4 separate regions of the Homo sapiens genome follow, and regions 1, 2 and 4 are each linked to region 3. Evidence: promoter capture Hi-C in 16 types of primary human blood cells and fetal thymus (Javierre and others, 2016). All regions are on one chromosome and are shown on one strand. Each heading gives the region's core, a stretch centred on a gene start or on the middle of the fragment in contact. The rest is flanking DNA. Distances are from core to core; before and after follow the strand shown.

What was found. Contacts are between HindIII fragments. The CHiCAGO score rates a contact against its expected background, and 5 or more counts as called.
Region 1: a fragment that was not itself captured here is called in contact with the fragment with the promoter of HOXA10-AS in region 3 in 1 of 17 cell types (naive B cells); the score reaches 8.1 in naive B cells.
Region 2: a fragment that was not itself captured here is called in contact with the fragment with the promoter of HOXA10-AS in region 3 in 12 of 17 cell types (M1 macrophages, monocytes, fetal thymus and 9 more); the score reaches 10.6 in M1 macrophages.
Region 4: a contact is called between a fragment that was not itself captured here and the fragment with the promoter of HOXA10-AS in region 3, in 1 of 17 cell types (fetal thymus). The highest score is 5.3, in fetal thymus.

The regions. Positions count from the first base shown.
Region 1 is chr7:25,829,899-25,832,598 of GRCh38, reverse strand. LOC100506236 (a long non-coding RNA gene) reads left to right here. Exons shown (of 3, transcript XR_108752.5): 2 at 650-833; 3 at 1,040-1,308. Among named protein-coding and RNA genes, the nearest start is that of LINC03007, 41 kb to the right of the region's middle. RefSeq lists an enhancer at 1,927-2,499. The HindIII fragment of the contact is 4,145 bases long and covers 1-2,700 here.
Region 2 is chr7:25,897,019-25,899,739 of GRCh38, reverse strand. No RefSeq gene overlaps it. Among named protein-coding and RNA genes, the nearest start is that of MIR148A, 52 kb to the left of the region's middle. The HindIII fragment of the contact is 3,378 bases long and covers 1-2,721 here.
Region 3 is chr7:27,167,471-27,170,170 of GRCh38, reverse strand. HOXA10-AS (HOXA10 antisense RNA) reads right to left here and starts at 1,272. Exons shown (of 3, transcript NR_046609.1): 1 at 1,178-1,272; 2 at 407-864. All of the region lies in intron 1 of HOXA10-HOXA9 (HOXA10-HOXA9 readthrough), which reads left to right. MIR196B (microRNA 196b) reads left to right here and starts at 608; the gene lies at 608-691. RefSeq lists enhancers at 406-996, 997-1,587. The HindIII fragment of the contact is 2,254 bases long and covers 1-1,823 here.
Region 4 is chr7:25,946,887-25,949,592 of GRCh38, reverse strand. The region is part of intron 6 of LOC105375199 (a long non-coding RNA gene); the gene reads left to right. Among named protein-coding and RNA genes, the nearest start is that of MIR148A, 1.7 kb to the left of the region's middle. RefSeq lists an enhancer at 1,497-1,566. The HindIII fragment of the contact is 2,684 bases long and covers 1-2,620 here.

The DNA.
Region 1 (2,700 bases), core at 51-2,550, 1.3 Mb after region 3:
ACAATGTGACCCACTGATCCAAGCCCGGGTAGTTCTCATTGCCCGGGGAGAACAAGCAGAGCATTGTTTCAGCGATGAAAAGAAAAACATCCTCTGATTTTCCAAGTTTGTTCTGAACCAAATTTTTGGTTGAAATAGAAAGATGTATTTTTTTTCCTTTTCTTGCCACCCTTCTTTATTTTTTAACCCATTTTTTAATGAAGCTATCTAAGTGGATGTTGAAACAGTGAATGTTAAGAAAGAGTACATTTCCTATGTAAACAAACACAACCCGGCTTAGAGAGAGAGGAAAGCAGTCTTGTCAACCCGAAAGGAACCCAGCACATGGTAATTTTTGTAATTGAAGTATCCCAGGGATTCCAGGGTACATGAACAATCCATAAAACAGGAATGAGACCACACAAAAACACAACCATGGCTCCAGGCGGGCACTGTTGAAAAGAAGCAGACTTTTAGCAGTAGGAAGCAGGGAGCTTGCATCAGAGGATCTTTGTAAATGCCCCTCTAAAATTAAAGTCCTCTCTAAGCTCCTTCCAGGTAAAAATGTTGTTTACTGGGGCTGAAGGCTGTGAAACACGAGCAATATAGAGAGGAAGACAAAAAGACTGGTGAGGTCATGACCTTGAGCCTTTTTGTTTTCTTTCTCAAGGTCTTTTACATGCATCGTTGGATTGCAGTCTCAAGCCTGGGATTCCAACGGAATTAACGTCCATTGAAAACTTACTGTGCTCAAGGCACAGAACGGGGTAGTTTTATACACATTCTCCCATTTGGATTTTTCAAAGACAACATCTAATCATCCCCAGAGAAATTTCAGCTGAGAAGACAGGATGGTGAGACAGTTCCTAAGTCTTTCCTAGACACAATTGTCTTTGCAAGTCCTCTGCCACAGTCAAAGGTGCTTTCTTGCCTACCTACTGGTAAAATCCTTGACTGTCCGATTTCTCTAAATAACTATAATTGGAGCAATCAGATCATTAAAAAAAAACAGCAGGAGAGATGTTAATGTTCTAAAATACAGTTTCCATTCTAATTGCAGATGAAGTGCCCTGGGGGCCAGAGTCCAGACAAGTATTTTGGCACCTCCAAGGACTCGCAGAACACAGAGAGGAAAAGAGAGACCCTGTTATCTTTCCGCAGGGGTGGCCGTTCAAACTCTCAGAGATGGAAGTTAAGATTTCCTTTGGTATAAGTGGCAGTTTGACTGGCTGCAAGGAGAGCCTCAGTTTGTTTAATTTGGAGTAAAATTTTATGAGTTAATCTCTAGTGAGGGAAAGCAGCAGTAAACACAGAACATACTGGTCATTATTCTAAGTATTTCTACATTCTTTCTCATGCATGAAAGGAGAAAAAAAGTCACAAAAATGAGGAGGCATGGTGCTCAAACATGTGTGTGTGTGTGTGTGTGTGTGCGCGTGTGTGTGTGTGTGTGTATGATTTTGTTTTGATCAAACCATCTGGTGTGCAGCATACCCCAGGATGTGAAGGCAAACATTTACCAAGAGATTCACATGATTTCTGCTGTGTATACTCATATTTGTAGAAGACGCTTATGTTTTCAGAAAGTGGAGATAAACATAGATCTCTCTGCATTTATTAATGCAGCCCCAGTTCTTTGCAGACCAAACCGTTATTTATTTTAGTGGGCCTTAGAAACTCAGGTGTGTTAAAAAGCCAGAGAGACATGCACAATCTGGAAATGATCAGTGTCATGCCTGAGGAAAACATTACCGTGCTCCTCAAGTTTAATAATATGGGCAAAAAATTCAGGGATATTGCGATACGATGGTGTGCTGAGAAGTGGATTAAATCTCGATTAAATCACAACATAAATAATGCCTTAACTAAAAATGTTAAAGGCGAACTTGAAATGGTCTTAAAAACAAAAGAGGTAATTTACCTGATTTATTAGGGGAGAGAAAAAGTAGCTTGGTGTGTGTTCTGTGGATTTCATGTTTAATGGGATGGACTTTTAGGGAAATGGCTGGGGATCTGAGGAAGCTAAACGAAAAACCCCTATATGCTGGCTGGAGTTTTAAGAAGATAGAGGGAGGGAAAAATCACCCATCAACCAACCAACCAAACCAAACCAAGAGTCTGAGTGCCCCAGCACTGGAAGCAAGACAATTGTTTCCTAGGGGACTCCTGGCTACCAGGAGACTGCTCAATAAGGGAGCGCTTAAACTTCAAAAAGGAAAAAGCAGATTTATTAGGAGGCACACATGAGGCTTTAAGGGAATGCTCCTGGTAAGTGGGACTCCTGCTGTTCTCATTCTTGTGCCTTTGTATTGCTGAAAACCCTTCTGCAAGATCCAAATATGCCTTTGGTTTTTTTTTTTTTTTTCCACGTGTGTTGTCACTTGAACATTTTGCACCACCCATCTCTCTGAAAAGTTCAGGATGTAGGGTACTTCCTTTTGAAGGTCTCTCAATTCTTCATAAGGAACTGATCATATTCAGCTTCACTATGGGGGGGCAGTCCTGGGGTGGGCTGGGGGTGCTGGCACACATGTTCCTAGTGGGTCATGTGTCCCCGTGGGCAAAGGATAACACCTCTTGGGGCTCAGTTTCCTCATCAGTAAATAGAGAATCTGCTCTTTAAGGGCCTTGCCAGGTCTAAGATCCTGTGATTCTCAGTAGGCCAGAAAACACAACTTCTGAGCAATCAAACCTCTGAGTGACAGGATGGAATATTTTGCC
Region 2 (2,721 bases), core at 221-2,720, 1.3 Mb after region 3:
ATCTAAATGCCAATTAGACTCAAATCCACCCTCCGTAAGCGTGTTAATGGCTGGGTGCAGTGGCTCATGCCTGTTATCCCAGCACTTTGGGAGATCAAGGTGGGAGGATTGCTTGAGCCCAGGAGTTGTCGACCAGCCTGGGCAACATAATAAGATCCTGTCTCTACAAAAAATAAAAGATTAGCCAGATTTTGTGGTGCATGCCTGTAATCCCAGCTATTCGGGAGGCTGAGGCAGAAGGATGACGTTAGCCCGGGAGGTTGAGGCTGCAGTGAGTCATGATCATGCAGCTGCACTCCAGCCTGAGTGACAGAGCAAGACCCTGTCTCTAAAACATAAAAATAAAAAAAAAAAAAACACTTTTCATTACCAGCTTAGTTTGCATAATCCAAGACAATATACAACTTTATTTCACATATTAAAGTTAGGCAGGCTCACCTGGGATTCAGATGCTGCAGAATTTTTTGGGGGTAAGCTCAGAAAGAGATGGGAGAAAGTATGCTAATAAGAAAGTCACCTATCTCTTATATTTAAGAAGGAAACCTTAAGTCAATATTTCCATAAAATTTTATTTTTTGTTTATAATTTACATTATAAACCCAGTTTCTAATTTTAGCACGGAAATTTAGGTACCAGTAGCAACAGATAGGTGCCTTGCCATAATAAGTCCTCATATTTTGCATTTACAGAGCATTTTCACGTTCATTACCTTATTTTGGTAGTCTGTTCCCAATTTTTATTCTTGCTGCTAAGGGTTTTCTGCGATGTCACAGAGCTACATAATAGGAGAATCCAAATTCAAGGCCAGGTCTCCTGACTCCCAGTCTAAGCCCTTCCCAAACCTGGGCCACACCACCTGTTTCAGTGGAGGTGTCTATTGTGTAGGCCCAGAGGCAAACACAGCTATCCTGGATGTGGATGAGGGCACAGCAAGCCAGCCAGTCTCACTCACTGTGGTGGGAGCACAAACTGATATGCATCCTTTGGAAAAAGCAATTTGGCAAAATGTATTGAGAACCTTAATACTGTTTCTACACTTTGACCCAGTAATTCTACTTAAAGGAATCTATCCTAAGAAATTAATGTGATATTAGCCGAAGGTTTACATAGAAATATGTTTACTGGAATGCTACTTATAATTCCAACAATAAAAGGTTAGTTAAGAACATTGTGGTTCTGGGTGCAGTGGCTCATGCCTGTAATCCCAGCACTTTGGGAGGCTGAGGTGGGTGGATTGCTTGAGCCCAGGAGTTTGAGACCAACCTGGGCAACATGGCAAAACCCTGTCTCTACCAAATAATACAAAAATTAGCTGGCATGTTGGTGCACACCTGTGGTCTCAGCTACTCAGCAGGCTGAGGTGAGAGGATCACCTCAAGGGTGTAGTGAGCCATGATCATGCCACAGCACTCTAGCCTGGGTGACAGAATGAGACCCTGTCTTAAAAAAAAAAAAATTATGGAAATAATGTGAAAATATTTATTATATAAGATCAAATGAAAAAAGTCATCATCCAGATAGAATAACTAGCAGAGAAACAAGATGTATACCAAAATGTTAAGGCCTAACTGTGACTAATGAGATTACAAATACAATTTTTTACATTTAATACCCATTTCCCATGTTTTCTATAAATAAGATGTAATTTTATAATCAGAAAAAAAGATTATATTTAAAAATTTTTAAATTATAAAAGCAGCCAGTGAGACTAAACACTAAAAATAAAGAGTGATTTGGGGATTAAAAATGGTCATTTTATCTAGATTGGTTCATAAACTGTATGGTTCATGTTCAGGAAAAACTAACAAACAAAAATATGGTGCTAATTTGTTACATTTCCAAGGAGAAGATTAAGGATGTATGATTTAAAGATGAAAACCACAATTGCAATAGAGCATGTGGCAAATATTTCAAGCTAGCAAAGTTTGACTAGGTAGTGGAATCACTTTCATGACTAAAGAAAGCTATACTGAATGTGTAGGAGTGAGGCTCTAGGGAGCCTCACTAGGAGAAGCTCTTGCAAGATCCCTGCACCATGTGGTAAGCTGGTTTCTTCCTCCGTGGTCTTTGGCCCTGGCTTGTTTTGTGTGATAAAAAGGAAGAGTCATCGGAGAGCTTCATATACAGCGAACACAACCTCAGAGATACTTTGGAGCTTTCTGGGTGGGGGAGAAAGACGTGGCAAAAGCAGCTGAAGGATTCAGGGTTAACACTTTGCCTTTTGAAGAGACTTCAGTTCTTGGAGGGCTTCCAGTCTGAATTTGGGGAATTCATCAACAGGAAAACAAATAGCTGGCAGGCTCTGTATTTACTCTGCCCTTCTCAAGGTTGCAACATAAATCTCCCAACTTGGAAAGCATTAAGGCCGAGGAGACATTTTGTGAGTTCAGGGACTCTCCTCCAGTCTGCATGAACCACGTCTACCCTCATTTCGGGAAAACACAGGCACCAGCCCTCAAGGTGCTGCGGGAGACAGTACTGACACTGTTTGACTCGCTTGGGGCAGACTGGGGAAATGAGAGCTGGAAAACTTGAGTTCTCAAGTGAGAGCTGTTGGTCTGCTTTGGAAAAAACCCACTTACGCCAGGAGAATGAAAGCCCTGAGAAGTTCTCACTGGGTGAGTTTATGGCAGGCTTGCCATGAAAAATACCCAATGGTTCTTTGATGGTGCCCGAATTGTAATATAGCTAGATCAATTCTGGAAGCAACCTTCTTCAACA
Region 3 (2,700 bases), core at 23-2,522:
GGCTGGACTGCATGGGGGCCTCCCCCTCCCCCAGTACGGCCTCCCCCACCTGGCGGCACTCCTTAGGGCCACGCGTTTCCTGCTTGCCAGAGTGGGGGGGGCGGGGGCTAAGGGGAGGGGGCGCAGGAGCGCGCGCCCCGGCGGGCGGGCAGCTAGGAGGGAGAGGGGGAGAGCGAGAGGCGGGAGGCCGGGGCCAGACAGGGAGCCGGGATCTGTACCGTCCCTGGCGCTTTCGAGCCTTCCACGGCTACCGCCTCTTGGCGCCGGCTCGCTGGGCTGCAAGATTTGGGAAAGCGGCGCGCACACTGCTTCTCGGAGCTGCTCTCGTCTCGCCTGCTCCCCGCCTTTATTCCTCTCTCCCTGCCTTTCCTCCCTCTCTTTTCCTCCCTCTCCCTCCCAGGAATACCTTACTGGGGCCTGTGGCTTCCCCTTCCTTGACGCATTTGCGGCCGCCTGGGGCACTCTGTTGCACTGGCGGGCGCAGGTTGCCTAGGGGCTGGGCTGGGCCGGGCCAGGCGCGATGGCAGGGTTCTCTCCTTGGCGGCGGCGGCAGCGGCGGAGGCGGCGGCGGCGGCGGGCGAGGCAGCCCTTCGCGGGCAGCACCAGAACTGGTCGGTGATTTAGGTAGTTTCCTGTTGTTGGGATCCACCTTTCTCTCGACAGCACGACACTGCCTTCATTACTTCAGTTGAAATCGTCTCCAGGTACCTCTGCGCGCGGGGGTCGGGCCGGGCGGGGCATCACGGCCCTGGTCGTGCCAGGCCTGCGGTGGCAACCTCGGCTTTCCCTGCTCAGGAGCCTCGTGTCTTTCTCCGCAGCGCTTTGCCAGCCGGCCGGCTTTCCCCTTCCACCACACACCTCCACCTGGTCACAGCAGGTAGGGTTAGGTTGGCTGCTCCTTCGCGGACGCCGGGGGCGTGGTAGGAATTCTGGGCTTTGGGCCATTCAAGGTCAGGGGCGCCCGCTTCCATCCTGAGCCTCCCACTGGAGGCCTGCGCCTGCCCAGGGACCTCCTGCCATTCTCTTGTAAGGCTGGAACACACACACACACACACACACACACACACACACACACACCAGTCCCGGGTGTGAGCTCAGGAAAGAACCTCCTTCCAGTGGAGACTCAGGCTGGACTAGGAAGGATAGGGCAGGCTGGGATCCTGGCCTTGTCACTTACCCTTCTCTCTGTAAGCTCGGCCGCTGCTAGGAGTCGCCTCTCTTTTCTTCCTTCTTTTCCCTGTCTTCCCTTCCTCTTTTATCTCTTCTTTCTTTTTTTCTTCTTTCCTTTGCTCCTTCCTGCTTTCTTTTCTTCCGTTGGTCTTTTTTTCATCTTCCGTCTCTGCCAGATTCTATCTCACCTCCTTATCTCCTTCCCAAAGCATCCTTGGGGAGGGGCCCAGAGCTGGCTTCAGGAGAGCCTAGGGGGTCTCACTTTCCTCTGCGGCTCAAGTAGAGGTTGGGAAGTCTGCCGAGGAAGGGCCCGCGTGGGGCGGCTGCCGAGGGCGGTGGGTTTGGGCCTGGTGTGTTACTCTGCAGACAAGGCCTCGGTTATGATCACGACCGGATGGCGGCAGCCTTGCGTTTCTTCGCCTGTCGCTAACGGCTGACTAGGAGATCTGATTAGGGGACATTCGCTGCAGCTTTGTGTGCCCATATCGAGGGCAGGGAGGCCTTCGCCAGCCTCACTGGGGACTGGAGCTGAGGCCCAACCAGCCTCGCTGGAGCCTGGCCATTCGCTGGGAAGCTCTTAGCTGGCTCTTCCCGGCCTGCCGGTCACAGCTTGGGGTTTGACCGCATTGAGGGAGACTGGCTAGGGCAAAGCTTGACTGCTTGCTTACTAGTGGCTTCCATTAGGTACAAAATATGTTCCATACAGCACCTTTGTGCAGCTGGGTGCTGGAGAAGGGGACCCTTCCAAGAGCCAGTATGTTTTAAATGGGCAAAAAGAATCCCAAATTCCAGAGCCATTGATATAAACTTGAGTCATCGTTCCAAATTGTAGTCTACAGATGGGAGCCAGTCTGACCATTTTCCCTACAGAAAACAGAAAACAAACTATCTCTCCCTACTCCCAACACACACAGTTACAGATTCGTGCCCACAAAGCTGTTTCCTTTCCCTGCCTGGACTGGAGGCCCAGGAACTCTTTCGTTGCACAGCCACCGACCTGCTGTCTGAAAGGACCACACACCCCATTCCCTTCAACTCCTCCCTGCCATTTTCTGGACCAGGGCATTGGATTTATTTCAGAGATCACAGTTTCAGAAATCTCAGTCGAGAAGGGGCCGCTTTAAATTATACTCATTTATTATTTCTTTATGCATACGCAATCTCTTTCACTTCGAAAATAAAAGCAGACAAAAAAGTCAGACTATTCTGGCTCCAAACCTTTGGGCTGAAGGAAGACAATATTTGGTTTTCTGATTTTTCTCCGCTTTCTAGGCACCAGTAACATCTGCTTAACACTCAACGCCTGCTAATTGTTCAGTAACTCTCTTATTTTGGGGCTAAGGCTGTTTAAAGGAACAGCTTTTTTACTTAAAAAATACTGAAATAATCAGTGTCTTCTCAGGCATAAAACGTGGAAAAGGCATCCAGACATGCCCAGCCCATTTGCAGACACTTAAAATTGGGAGCCAGGGTTTCCTCCAGGGTTAATTTTTTAAATGAAAATCTCAGAGGCCTGGCGGACTGCGGGGT
Region 4 (2,706 bases), core at 29-2,528, 1.2 Mb after region 3:
AGCTGCAGATTTATTAATGGGTGTGTTAGTGTGCAGTGCCTTGCAGGAATTTAAACTCTCTACCCTTAAAGAAGGAAATGTATTTGTACAAAAGCCACAGATAATGGTCCTTTTACTCAAGCGACCTGCTGGATAAATGACAGCCTGCAGGGATTGAGTTTGGAGATCTAGTCTCAATTCTGCTTCCGATTTAGATGCAGTTCACTTTTGTTTTTTAAAGTAAGTTTTATTAATGGAAAGGAAGAACTTTTTCCAAGAAAGCATTTTGAAAGCCACTGGGGGAGGGGGACATTTATGCTTTTGGGCTGTGGAGATCCTTTAGGTGGAGAGACTGCTCTCTCATCCCTAGTGGAATGGAGGTTTGGGTTGGTGAGTTTCTATCAATAGCCTGCTCTCTATAGTGGGTCAGTGACTGGCACCAAATTGTAGTCCTGTTCCATGGACATTGCCCTGTTTTGGTTTTATGAGCTTTTGGCCAGGCACAGGACGCAGGGTGGTAGGGAAAAAAGGAAATGGTTCCTGTGCCCGTGGTGCTGACAGGTAAGGGAAGGGCCTTCTGATGTATTTTATGGGATGCTTCAGAAACCTGGGGGTTGCTTGTGTCTCTGGGAAGCCCTTGGTAAAGAAAGCCACCATTTTTTTTACTTAGGTATATTCCAGTGGTTTATCATCGGGAGAGGGATGATAATGGAGGAAGGCTCAATGAGGGAGAAAGTATTCAGCTGCTTGATGTTAGAGCTTAATGGCAGGACCTACCAGTTGCTTTTCACAGAAATGCTGTGTATTGATCCTAAGGCAGCATGTGTTCTCTTTTGTGTGGCCATTATCCATTCTCCCACTTTTCCATCAGTGACTGCTTTGCTTTTGTTCCTCAATCCTTTACCCAAAAATGGCTGAATTATTTCTGTGCAGTTAAATAAAGTGATCCAAACTCAAGTACGTCTTGTGTTCATTTGAGATGTAAGGTATGCTTACTTGAGGAAGAGGATTCTCTTTCCTAGTTCTTATGTCTGTACATCTCCACAAGATAGTCTGAATATACTGAATTTTAAGAAAACTTAAATCAACTTTGTAAGAGAATGGGAGGTAAAGAGTGGAGCGGTTGACTGGGAGAGTAGTCATCCATACAAAGGAATTAGGTCAGGATCTCTCACCTCCAGAGAAAGGCAAGGTTTGGAGTCCCTGACATGATTCAGTCTGGTTTGACTTCTATGCTTAAGTGATTTGCATTTCTCCTGTTTGTGACCACAAGTGAGTTAAGGACTAACCAAGCAGGAGGGCTGTGGTTTACTCTGGTGCTAAGGATGCCAGGAATAGGAACTGGGAAAATCGGCAGTCTTGGGGTGCTTACTGTAAACCTGGCATGGTCTCATAGACCTCAGTCGTTTAGCAATCAGTGTATTTTCACCTCCCGAGCATCAGGTGTTACTCTAGACGTTACGAATGCAACAGTGAACAAAATAGGCCCCGAACCCTGCCCTCTTGGAGGTCTTTCTCATGCAAGAGGTAGACAATACAAATATAAAATAATCAGAAGGGTGATAAACGTCAGGGAAGGAAGAACAAGGAACGCTGGGGAGGCCGTGGTGTTCATTTAACCCAGATCGCTGGGCAAAGGAAACCATCACTAGCAACCTACTTTGCATGGCCTTGGCACTCCTGTCTTTATTTTAGATACTTTATGTGAATGAACCAAACAGGTGCAGCTGAAACTTTAGTCATGCATTGCTTAATGATGAGGATAGGTTCTGAGAAACGTGGTGTTAGGCGATTTCATTGTTTTTGCAAACATCACAGAGTGAGTGTTCTTAAACCTGGGTGGTAGAGACTACCACACACTTAAGCTGTATGCCATAGCCTAGTGCTCCTGGGCTACAAACCTGTGCAGGATGGTACTGTACTGAGTGCTGTAGGCAAATGTAACACAATGGTAAGGATTTATTTAACCGTACAAAAGGTACAGTAAAAATACAATATAAAATGTAAAAAATGTTACACCCATATGGGACACTTAGCATGCATGGAGCTTGTGGGACTAGAAGTTGCTCTGGGTGAGTCAGTGAGTGGTGAGTGAATGTGAAGGCCTAGGACGTTACACTATTGTAGACTTTATAAATATTATAAACTTAGGCTACACTATATTTAAAAAAAATGCTATGACATGACAGCTGTGACATCATTAGGCTGTAGGAATTTTTCAGCTTCATTATAATCTTACGCGACTACTGTCATATATTTGGTCCATTGTTGACTGAAATATCCTTATGCAGTGCGTGACTATCACTCAACACTGAAAGCCTTTAATTTTTTAAAGAACATTTTAAATTTCAAATGCAAGGGTTGGGAAATATGGGGGGGCGTGCAGAGGAGCTGGGAAGCCATGGTGCTGGGTCACTGATTCCCCATTTTATATAATCTCCCACCACATCTTCCAGAAGTAAAATTCTAGGATTCGACATAACTTGCATTTCAAAGAGTGTTTATGCCAAAGAATTCGAGTGCTTTCAAATATTCTTTAAATAGTTGGGAGCGGGGTGGACGACGTATTTGTTGGGATCCCACAAGAGTGCTATAGTCTAGTCTGCAGGTGATGTTCAGGAAGCACTTCTTCCCCTAAGCTTGTCTCTTGTTAATTGATACAAAATTTTCTTGTTCATGGGGCCTTATATACAGGGAGATCTTCTGAGATAATCACTACTGACACAG